4 separate regions of the Homo sapiens genome follow, and all the other regions are linked to region 2. The links are contacts of gene promoters, found by promoter capture Hi-C in human tissues and cell types (Jung and others, 2019). All regions are on one chromosome and are shown on one strand. Each heading gives the region's core, a stretch centred on a gene start or on the middle of the fragment in contact. The rest is flanking DNA. Distances are from core to core; before and after follow the strand shown.

Region 1 (2,700 bases), core at 169-2,668, 450 kb after region 2:
GTTGTAAAAGGAGAGAAAACAGGAATATAGAAGCAGGGAGTGCGTAGGGAAGATGAGAGTGGCAGGGAACTAAATCTTGAGAAAGCACAGAACTCAACAGACATAGACCGAAAACCTTGTTTGTTATTAAATCTTACATTAGATTGAACAAGTGAAACTCCATCCCTGAGAAAGCTCACCTGTGAACTGGGCAATTTCAGTGCAGTTTTTTTTTTTCTTAGAGTTATTAATAAGATGAATTGAGATAATGCCAATGCCTTTTGGAAATAAGAACCAAACAAATGCAAGGTGGCCTGGAAAATTGTCTCCAAAAAAAGGCAGTGAGACCCCCATGAAACATTTTTAACTATATTTTTCAAAATTGCTTTTGTTTTCAAAGATTTACAACTTCAGGGAGACAAAGGAAACTCCAGCTCATCTCCCACATCATTGATTGAGAGGACCATTTTCTGACTGTCTGCACACGTAAGTACCTTGCTTTCACTAGTTAGAAGCTCTTGCACTCCAGTCCTTACCTCCTGATGCACTTTGTTCCTTATATTCTGTCTGTGATTAATGTAGGTAACTTCCAGCTACACCTGTCACATTTTAATCTAAGCTAAAGGGAGAACTATAGCCTAAAGGCACTGTAGGTAATTTCATGAACTTGTTTCTGAAAGATAGAGAATGACTGAGTAATGGAAAAATTGTGAGATCCTTCTGTTTCAACTCAGTGCATTACCAAATTGAGTGCTGGAGGAAGATCCCAAGGAAAGGAGAAAGAAGGACCAATTAGGGAGAAATCATAAATACTTGAATAGTTAGATAAGCTTCCCATTAATTAGAGAAAAAAATTAGTTATGAAGAGATAAAGGAAAATTATGAAGGAGAGCAGAGAAAAAGCACCATGCGAGGAAGCTTGTAATTAAAAACAGAATGAATGAAAACAGATCACAATTGGCTAAGTGGATGAAAAGAGAGGAATGGAAAAATAACATAGTTTTAACAAATGACAATGATAGAGGTAAAGACTCCTCCAACAAAAAGCAAGGATTAAAAAAAAAGAGATAATCTTCAAAGCAAAAAGAGACCCAAAAGGCTACCTGAAACTGAATGACAGAAACAAGAAAGAAAAAACCTGAAAGGGGGAAAAAAGACAAAACATACAGGAGAAGTAAGTAGACCCAGAAACACACATAAGAAAACATTATAAAACAGACCTATCTTATTCAAACATTAATGAAAGAATGAAGCTCTGAGAGTAATAAAATATTAATTATTATTCCACTACCTGCTAGTCTGTCTCTGCTGGCAGCTTTAGCATATCTACTTGTTTGAGTGACAACCTCCTGTCTTTGCTATTTCTCGCACTTTTTAAAGTCCCTCTCCCCAGGGGAGAACCTATTTTACTCTTATAGAACCTGTATAAATAATGGGCCAAGAAATCTTGTGTTTTGAAGATTGACTGAGAAAAAAAATTTCCAAAATGTTCTCCAAGTTGAAAAAGATGTAGAAGCCTTAGACCAAATAGTAGGTCAGTACCCAGAATATTCCCAAATAGATTTGTATCTGTAATTGGAAATAATGGCAATTTCTAGGGTTATTTGAGGACAAAATGAGATTATACACTTAGAGCATGTCTGGCATCTAGTACACACACAATAAATATTAGCTGTTATTGTAAGCATGGACACTCATTTTTATCAGATGGTGGGCCAAACCCTGTTGGACTGTGACATACTTATTGCTTCTTCCTGGGTCTCTCAACCCAAGTGAGAAGTCAGCAAAGAAATCATTCGGGAAACCCTCTGTTTTTGTTTGTTTGTTTGTTTGTTTTTAATACCATAATTAGATTAACTAATGCTTGTTCCATTATTTCCTATGAACAATCCAAGTTTTTTCTTTCAGGAAGCTGTGCCCTGTGGTCAGGGCCAGACATGTTTCTGTGCTTTTCCTCTCCACCTGCTTCTCCCCTGTGATGCAAAGGCAAAGGGGCTGTGGGTGTGGCTGAGTGCTCAGGAGGGCACCGCCCAGTGAGGTCAGTGAGTGTCAGTGACTCACGTCCGCCTAGAATTGCCCCCACCAGGGCCTTGCTGAGTCTTCTCCCTGCTGCTGGGAATTTTGTCCCACCTTTATGTAGATGTGCGTTACTGAGTTTATCTGCATAGGAAAGGATGTGAGCTCTGAGTTCCCGGACTCTTCCTCCTCTCAGGTTCCTTAGAATGATTTAGGAGTAGGATTCTGAGCATCTTGGGGAGCTCTCCTGGGGGGTCTAATCGCCCATGTCTCAGGGACATGGGAAGGCCTAACAATCAAAGTGCACTTGGTGCTAGACATAGAAGTGGGAAGAAAGTGGAGAACAAATGAACAGGAGGCTGGCTATCTGGATATCTGGATGAGGGGCTCGAAGGACCATAGAGACCACCCAACCCATGGGATAGACAAAGAACGGGCAGTGTCCAGAAGCGGAACTGGAAAGTCCCCTATACCCACATGGCCCACCCGTGCTAGATTTTCAATCCCTGGATTCAACACTGCCACTGTCAAATATGTTATTTCTGGGAGATTCTCTGACCTCACTTATGCTTAGTTTCTTCATATATATAGTGGGAATTTTATAACTCATTTGTCAGTCTTTTCCTGGAATAAAAACAAATGAGATACAGAAATGCTTTGCAAGCAGATGAACTAAATAAACACATCCAGAGAACTGGCAAACTG
Region 2 (2,700 bases), core at 128-2,627:
ACAAGCCCCTCCACAGCCTAGCCCACCCTTATTTTTTGCTATAAGCATTCCTGACCCCTAGGTTTCTGGCAGTCAGAGTGGACAGTCCCCTCTCTCTGCCTTGTCCCATGGCCATCCATCCCAATATTAAAAAAAAAAAAATCTCCAAGCCATTTGGTACTGTTGTTCCCTCCATCTAGAATTCTCTGGCCCATGAGGTCAGATCCTGTCCATTCCCCAACACCCAGCTCGAATGCCACGCCCTCACGGGTTGGAGGAGAAGGGGGTTAGTCAGGAGCAAGCCCTTCTCAGAAATCCTACAGTTCTTTGCCTGAACCTATTTTGGGACATTAATCTCTTCCTACCCGCTCTGTGAGTGATTTTTGTTGTTGTTTAAGAGTTATCTTTGCCCTTAAGAGTTATTTTTGTCCTCGTTTTACGGATGGGATTTGGGTTCCTCCAGGTAAGACCTACCCTCCTCCACCCCCAAATCCTCCTGGTACCTGGATGTAGCCTAAGAAGAATTGTCCTATGAACGAAGAATAAATTAAGATTGGGTTTGCAATTGACGCCAGCAGAAGCAGAAATGGGCTAGGTTGAGCACCAGGCAAGACAAGCTGACGATCAGGGTACACATCTTGAATCAGAAACCCTGGGCACAGACCAGCAGTCTGCGTGGTAACAGGCCCTCCGAGTGATTCTGATGACACTCGAGTTTGAGAACCAGGGCGGTCTAGCCAAAAGCCTGCAGTACACCCCTTCCCCTCTCTCGCAGCTTACGACCTTGACCCTGGGCTCTGGGGGCTTCCGCCGAGGAGGGAGGAGGGCACAGGCGGTCACAAAGGAGGGCGGGAGTGGAAGGGGTGAGCCTGGAAGAGAAAGTGCGAGGATGCGAGAAGAGGGATGGAGCGAAGGAAGAGGATCAGAAGGAGGAAAGGAAGGTAGCGGGGAGGGCACAGAAGTGGGGAGGGAGGGAGTGGAGGAGGGACTGGCACCCCGCACGGTGGCATCTTCCAGAAGGTCATGCGTCCGTCCCCACGTCTTTCCAGGGCCGGTTCTCCCCGGTGGGGCCCGGGGTCTTGGAGACCAGTCTGTGCAGCCTGCCCGGCACCAGCGTGAGCCCCGGGACCCCGGCCTGGCGTCCCCCACGCCCGCGCCCCCGCGCCAGTACCTGCTCCTGCTGCGGGGGGGCCTCCAGCACCGGCGCTGCCTTCCGCGCCGCCGTCCCCGCGGCCATGCCTGAGCCACTGTGCCTTCTCCAGGGCACAGCGCCTGCCGGGGAGGGTCCCGCAGAGTCCGCAGAAGGAGGCGCCGCGGGGCCTCGGGAGCCGAGGGTGAGAGCCGGATCTGCGGCGGCGGCGGAGCGGCGGCCCTGCCCGGGTTGTGCGGGGCGGGAGATGGGAGCCTCCCGGCACGCCCCGCCTCCGCCCCCTGCACGCTGGCCAGCGTCCTCCCCAGCAGCGGCCTCGAGGTCCCGGTCGCCAGCACCCCGGTTCCTTCAGAACCTCAGGCCTCCCATTCAGCCAGCCATTGTCGCCGATAAAGCGTCTTGAGCCCTACCGGGTGCGTGTGGCGGGAACCCCGGTTTTGTTACCGGGCGGCAGGACTGGAGGAGGGGTCAGAGGTGGGTAGGGAGAGAGAGGGGAGTAGAGGAGTGAGAAATGGCGGTGGGGGGGCGAGGGGTGCTGGGGAGGAAGAGAAGAGAGAGAGAGAGTTTCCTCTCCCTCAGAGGTGTTTATTAGGAGGCAGGAGTTCGGGTGGCTGTGCAGATACAGACTTTCCTCAGTTATCTGTGCTTCCTCCAAAGATGATGAAGGAGAGAAACTCCAATCTAGGGAGAGCGCAGACCATCTTGGCCCCTATGCTGCTCCAGGCCATGCAGGGCCCCTGCGACGCAAGCATCTTGCCTTTGCCCCTCTACCTCCAGGGTCTCCCCTCCCGCCTTTACAACTTAGGCCTAAGCCTGGCTTCAAGGTTGAGAACAAGCTGGAACGTTTAGGCAAGCCTTTAGAAATACCTGGGTGTTGATTTGGGGAAACAGAAAAGAGGAGCACAGAATTAGATGATGTGTCCTACGAAATACAGCTTACCCCTTTCCAGTTTGTGATGGCTCGTATTTGTCAACACCTACAAAGGAGGTGAACAGACCAAGATGGACATTTCTCTGCCATTGTGGAACGTAGAGCCTAACAGGGGATAGAGAAAAATAAGCATCTAAGTACAATTTATCACGGATGGTGCCTTGGTTTTCCAGCCTTAACTGGGCATCAGAATCCTATGGAGGAATGCTGAGTTTGTTAAAACTCAGAGTGCTGGCCAAGCACAGTGGCTGATGCCTTTAATCCCAGCACTTTGGGAGGACAGGGCGGGCGGATTGCTTGAACCTAGGAGTTTGAGACCAGCCTAGGCAACATGGTGAAGCCCCATCTCTATAAAATATACAAAAGTGAGCTGGGCGTGGTACACCTGTAGCCCCAGCTACTCAGGAGGTTGAGGCTGGAGGATCGCCGGAGCCCGGGAGGTTCAGGCTGCAGTAAGCCGTGATGGAACCACTGCACTTCTGCCTGGACAACAGAGCGAGACTCTATCAAAAAACAAAACAAAAATCTTCAGATTGCTGGAGTTGAGCCCTAGAGTTTTTAATATAGTAGGTCTAGGGTGGAGCCTGAGCATTTGTCTTTTGAACAAGTTTTCAGGTGCCGCTGGGGCTGTTACCTACAT
Region 3 (2,700 bases), core at 151-2,650, 460 kb after region 2:
TAATGCAAACATTGAGTTCTTAATTTTCAGTTACTGTATCTTAACTCATTTATTAATATATAATTCATATATAATATAAATCATACATCATATAATAATTCACCTATTTAAAGTGTACAATCAATAGATTTTAGTAAATTCACAGAGTCATATAACCACCACTACAATTAATTTTATAACATTTTTATTATCAAAAAAGAAAACCCATACCCATTAGCAGTCATTCACCGTCTTCTCCCAACTCTCCAACCTCTGAGCCCCACTAATCTGCTTTCTATGTCTCTATATATTTGCTTTTTCTGGAAATTACACATAAACAATCATAAAATACGTGATCTTTTGTGACTGGATTTTTTCACTTTGCATAATTTTTCTCAAGTTCATCTGTCTTACAGCATGTGTCAGTACTTTATTTTTGCTGAATAATACTCAATTTTATCGATATACCACATTTGGTTTATATATTCATCAGTTAATTGACATTTGGGTTGTTTCCACTTTTTGGCTTTTATAAATAATATTGCTATAAACATTCCCGGACAAATGTTCATATGAACATAACTTTTATTTCTATTGGATATACACCTAGGAATGGAATTGCAGAGTATTATGATTTGACTTTTTGAGAACCTCCTGGACAGTTTCCGTACAGACTGTACCGTTTTACATTCCCATCAGCAGTATATGAGAGTTCCAATTTCTCCATATCATCACTAATTCTCACGTGTTATTATCTTTCTTTTTATTATAGCTATCTTAGTAGGTGTGAAGTGGCAGTTGTATTTTATAGTTTGGAATTTCTTTTTCATTAAAAGAATAGTTTTCAGTTCTCTCCTGATATTCTCTATTATGGCATCTAATTTCTTGAACAGCTATTTGAAAGTCCACGTGGGATAATGCAATACATGAACTTCCTGTTGCCTGTTTCTATTATGTATTTATGTATATTATGTGTATATATATATATATATATATATATATATATATATATATATATATTAGCTCTGGTCATGTGGGCTTTTCCTCAGTATCTCTAGCAATTTTGGATTGAATGCTGGACATTGTTGTGAATAATCACAAATGCTCTGAATGATTTTATCTTCTATAGAGGTCTAAATATTATTTTTGGCAGGCAGTTAGAGTAGTGACAGATTACCAGACTCAAATACGTGATTGATTTTATTTGAAACTTGGCAATATACTTTGTGAGAGCTTGTCTTTTCTAGTTTACCTCTGCTCCTGAGGTGTAGCTTTCTAGGATTTCCAACTTACAGGCTGGCATATTTATCAAAGGCCTGCCTCCTTGGTAAGCAAATCAGAAATAAAATTCTAAGACCCCAATTATCTGAATGAATTCCTCCTCTCAACCAACAGCATTCCAAAGTTAACCTGAATAACTAGTTCAGGCCATGATAGGAAGTGGGAGTTGGACATGCCTAATTTTACCTCCTGTCTTTTGGAATTCAGGAAAAGCCAACCAACATTCACATCAACACAGACTTTAAGTCTGTTAAGAAACATTTACAGTCTATTCTCTCTGAAGTCAGCTACCTGGAGTCTTCAGCTGAAAGATAAAACTTTGGTCTCCACAACCCCTTATTGTAACACAGACATTCCTTTCTACTGATGCCAGGTGTTTAGATAATTTCACTCTTTCAAGCAATTGCCAATCACAAAATCTTTAACTGTTCCTATGACCTGGGAACCCCCACTTTGAGTTGTCTTGCTTTGCACATTGAATCAATGTACATCTTACATGCATTGATTGATGTATTATGTCTCACTAAAACGTATAAAAATGCAAGCCGTACCACAAGCACCTTGGGAACATGTCATCAGGATCTTTCAAGGCTGTGTCATGAGCATGTCCTTAACCTTGGTGAAATAAACTTTCTAAATTGATTGATGCCTGTCTCAGATACGTTTGGGTTTACAACCCTTAACTCTAATTTTTGTCCCCAAAAAATTGCCAATAGTTCTGTGTAGCTACTTCACCTTGCAGTTGACATTGCTGCTCAGCCTCAAGGGTGTTAGAGGCACAGTGTACTATTAGGTTTACCTCTCTGTGTTTCTCATCTTTCCAGGAGCATGGCATCTCAAGTCTTAACTGCCTTGGTGGTTCTCTGATGCTTCACATACAAACACACGTACACAAAACTGTTTCTTTTTCTTCTTCTCCTTTTCCTTCTACTCTTATACCTCTAGCTTCCACTCCTCCTCTGTCCCTCCTCCTTTTTATTAATTACCCAGCTTTTTGTACTTATTCTCAGTGGTGGGGTTGGTATACAACAACCTAATTCATCATTACAGGAAGCCTTCCATGCACTTGGATCCATTTTTGTATTTTCTATTCGGTTCCATTAGTCTATCTAGTCATGCCCTATTGCCACCCTGTTTTAATTATCGAGGCTTTAATAATACATTTGTTATCTGATAGGGTTAGTGCATGAGTGCATGTTTGTGTACACATGCATATACACACACACAGCTCTTTTTAGTGTTTCCCAGTTATCTTGTCTGTTTATGCTTCCAAATAAACAGTATAATCAAGTTCTTTAACTCCAGAAAAAAATATAATATGTATATTAAGATAAGGTTAAATTTGTAAATTTACTTAGGAACAACTGGCATTTTTCTAACATTTACTATTTCTATTCAAAAACATCTACTCGAGTTTACTCTATGCACTTCAGGAGATAT
Region 4 (2,700 bases), core at 29-2,528, 450 kb before region 2:
ATCAGTCTTGTACATTTCCTTGTAGACTCTGTTAATTTCCTGCAGCTCTTGGTTGGTTCTTGAGCAGATGATCTCAATGAGGGAGTCCTTGTTGGTTCCCAGCCCCTTCATGGAAGATTTTAGCTCAGAAGCATCATACTGAGCAGGTGTCTTTAATAGGCCCAAAGCCACTATCTAGGTGGCCAGATAAGGCTGACTTAAGTGCTGATACAAGTTCCTTTTTGGTCCTTCTCTGGTAGGTGAAGGCAATATCCTGTCTCTGTGCATTGCTGTGGTTAGTCAAAATGTTGACAGTGGTGATCTCATCCACACCTTTGGTCTTGATGGCCATTTCAATGTTCAAAGCATCCTGCTCAGCATCAAATTTGGTGTAGGCTTTGACTGACCCAAATGCACTTGGGAGTGTAGAGTGTTCACCCTCCAAGCTGAGCTTGCACAGGATTTCATGAACAGCAGATATTTTGAAGGAAGCTGGGCTGGGCACCAAGACCTGAGAGCGTCCCCAGATGCTGAGCTGAAAATATATTATTTTATGCCCCTCTCCCCTGCCCCACCTCTGCAAACTACCACCTTTCCTCCCTAAAATATATGAGGAGGGAGGTCGTGCTAAGTTGGCATCTTAGGTCATTATAGGACCTTCACCCCATCCTTGAGAATCTCATCCTTGGGAACTCTTCTTGCATTTCAAGTGGAAAAAGATGCAACTAATATTGACTAAGTGCTAGGCACTATGCTGTGTTATAGGGTGCAATGGTGTACAGGACAGATGTTGCTCCTGCCCTCAAGCAACTTACAGTGTAGTGAAGGATACAGACAGTTAAATAAAGTATCATGTGTTAAAGGATGGGGTTTTCTAAAGGATTTTAAAGAGAAAACATGATTCATGTGAGCCCAAAATGTAATTATCTTCACCACCAAAACCCAGAAGAAGCCATGTGTGTATTGGGGAAAAAAGTGTTATGTAAAGGATCAGGAGAACCAGGTTTTATTCTTCCCCCTGTCTCTGATGATCTCGGTAATGTGTCTAGCTTCAACTTTCTCATCTATAAAATGGGGATGATAATGTTTGTCCTGCTATCTCATGGGATGGTATGTGAGAAAATGTACATGAAAGTGCTATAAATATAATTGAACATTTTGTTTTCCAGTGATACAATGGGGGTTGTAATTTACTCACTCATTAATAACTTATTCATGCACTTTTTCATCCAGCAAACATTTGTTAAGCACCTACTTGATTGAAGATCCTGTGTTAGATCTTACACTTGGCTCAGTTTCATCTTGTTGCATGATTCCATTCAAAACATCTAGATTTATTTAGCATTAACTTCTTTTTTTTTTTTTTTTTTGAGATGGAGTCTTGCAGGCTGAAGTACAGTGGCATGATCTCAGCCCACTGCAACCACTGCCTCCTGGGTTCAAACAATTCTCCTGCCTCGGCCTCCTGAGTAGCTGGGATTACAGGCATGCGCCACCATGCTCAGCTAATTTTTTGTATTTTTAGTAGTAGGGATGGGGTTTCATTATGTTGGCCAGGCTGGTCTTAAATTCCTGACCTCAAGTGATCCACCCACCTTGGCCTCCCAAAGTGCTGGGATTACAGGTGTAAGCCATTGTGCCCGGCCAGCATTAATTTCATATTAAGTTGGAGTGGGTGGTGAGAGGAAATCTGCATTTATTGATCCCCTATTTCAGTCTAAGGGTTCACCTTATGTAATCTTCCTGGAGGGGTAGGTGGAAGTGACCAGGAAGAATATGGGTGAGAAGCTGTTGAATTAAAAATTCATTTTGTGCTTCATAGGCTAGACTTGCATCTGGAAAAACAAAATGATTTAATTATGGAATTATAGAATAATTGTTAAATTGATTATAATTACTTTAAAAATTCTTGTTATTCATTCTACTAGCTAATATGTAACCATCAAATGAAATCTTTTACATTAAAGTAGATAGAAAAATATTTTATAAGTATTATATGTGTTTTGTGTTATTTATATTTGTTATGAAAGAACTAGTTTTTATTATATATTTAGAATACTTTAGAGAGAGAGAAGAGACTTTCTACAAATGAAACAGAATTTACTGAAAAGCTTGAAGAGTAAGGCATGATCCCAAATTATTTCTAACTTCTGGAATTGCCTTAAGACACTTTACAAACACTTGAACATTGCAGCATAATGACAATCTACTGTAGTGCTGCATCACCATCAAGATATTTCTAGTTTAACTGTTGGTGAAAATAGTTGGCATCAATTGTCTTCCCAAGTATATGCTAGTGGTGTCCTTTTAATCTTCAGGAGTAACACACTGATTCTGCTGTGCTTTCAGGTAGAGTTTAAAAAATAATAATAATCAATAATCTCCAATACGACAAAAGAGGACCGTAAGAATCAGGAGATGTTACCAGGAATCCCAACCAGCCATTCAGAAACCAAGCCATAGAGCTTAAAGAAAAGATTTTTTAAAAACAAATATTGCAAAATAAAAATGGTAGTGCCTGTTTCGTTTAGCTTCTTTCAAAAATATATAAGCAATGTTAGACAAACAGACATTCCTCTGACCTTGTGATTTAATTTACATGTGGGCAACAGACTTGAGCTCTCCTTAAATTCAAACCAAGAATAAGAGCTGGGCCAACACATTGCCCTTGAGTTCAGCAGAGGTCATGGAACCTCTTTCCAGCAGTGTGGTCTTTTGCAA

What was found. The method cuts DNA at HindIII sites, captures the fragments that hold promoters and counts their contacts. A contact is called where the count stands out against the background at its distance.
Region 1: a contact is called between a fragment that was not itself captured here and the fragment with the promoter of RNF175 in region 2, in 2 of the 25 tissues and cell types used here (dorsolateral prefrontal cortex and liver).
Region 3: a fragment that was not itself captured here is called in contact with the fragment with the promoter of RNF175 in region 2 in 2 of the 25 tissues and cell types used here (H1 embryonic stem cells and neural progenitor cells).
Region 4: a fragment that was not itself captured here is called in contact with the fragment with the promoter of RNF175 in region 2 in 1 of the 25 tissues and cell types used here (aorta).

What each region holds. Positions count from the first base shown.
Region 1 is chr4:154,206,589-154,209,288 of GRCh38, forward strand. It overlaps LOC101927947 (a long non-coding RNA gene), which reads left to right. Exons shown (of 15, transcript XR_007058336.1): 12 at 380-465. Among named protein-coding and RNA genes, the nearest start is that of DCHS2, 280 kb to the right of the region's middle. The HindIII fragment of the contact is 4,839 bases long and covers 1-2,700 here.
Region 2 is chr4:153,758,647-153,761,346 of GRCh38, forward strand. RNF175 (ring finger protein 175) reads right to left here and starts at 1,378. Exons shown (of 9, transcript NM_173662.4): 1 at 1,151-1,378. The coding sequence starts at 1,216. The HindIII fragment of the contact is 12,933 bases long and covers 1-2,700 here.
Region 3 is chr4:154,223,151-154,225,850 of GRCh38, forward strand. All of the region lies in intron 12 of LOC101927947 (a long non-coding RNA gene), which reads left to right. Among named protein-coding and RNA genes, the nearest start is that of DCHS2, 270 kb to the right of the region's middle. The HindIII fragment of the contact is 8,820 bases long and covers 1-2,700 here.
Region 4 is chr4:153,308,303-153,311,002 of GRCh38, forward strand. The region is part of intron 6 of TRIM2 (tripartite motif containing 2); the gene reads left to right. It also overlaps the pseudogene ANXA2P1. Among named protein-coding and RNA genes, the nearest start is that of MND1, 35 kb to the right of the region's middle. The HindIII fragment of the contact is 6,924 bases long and covers 1-2,700 here.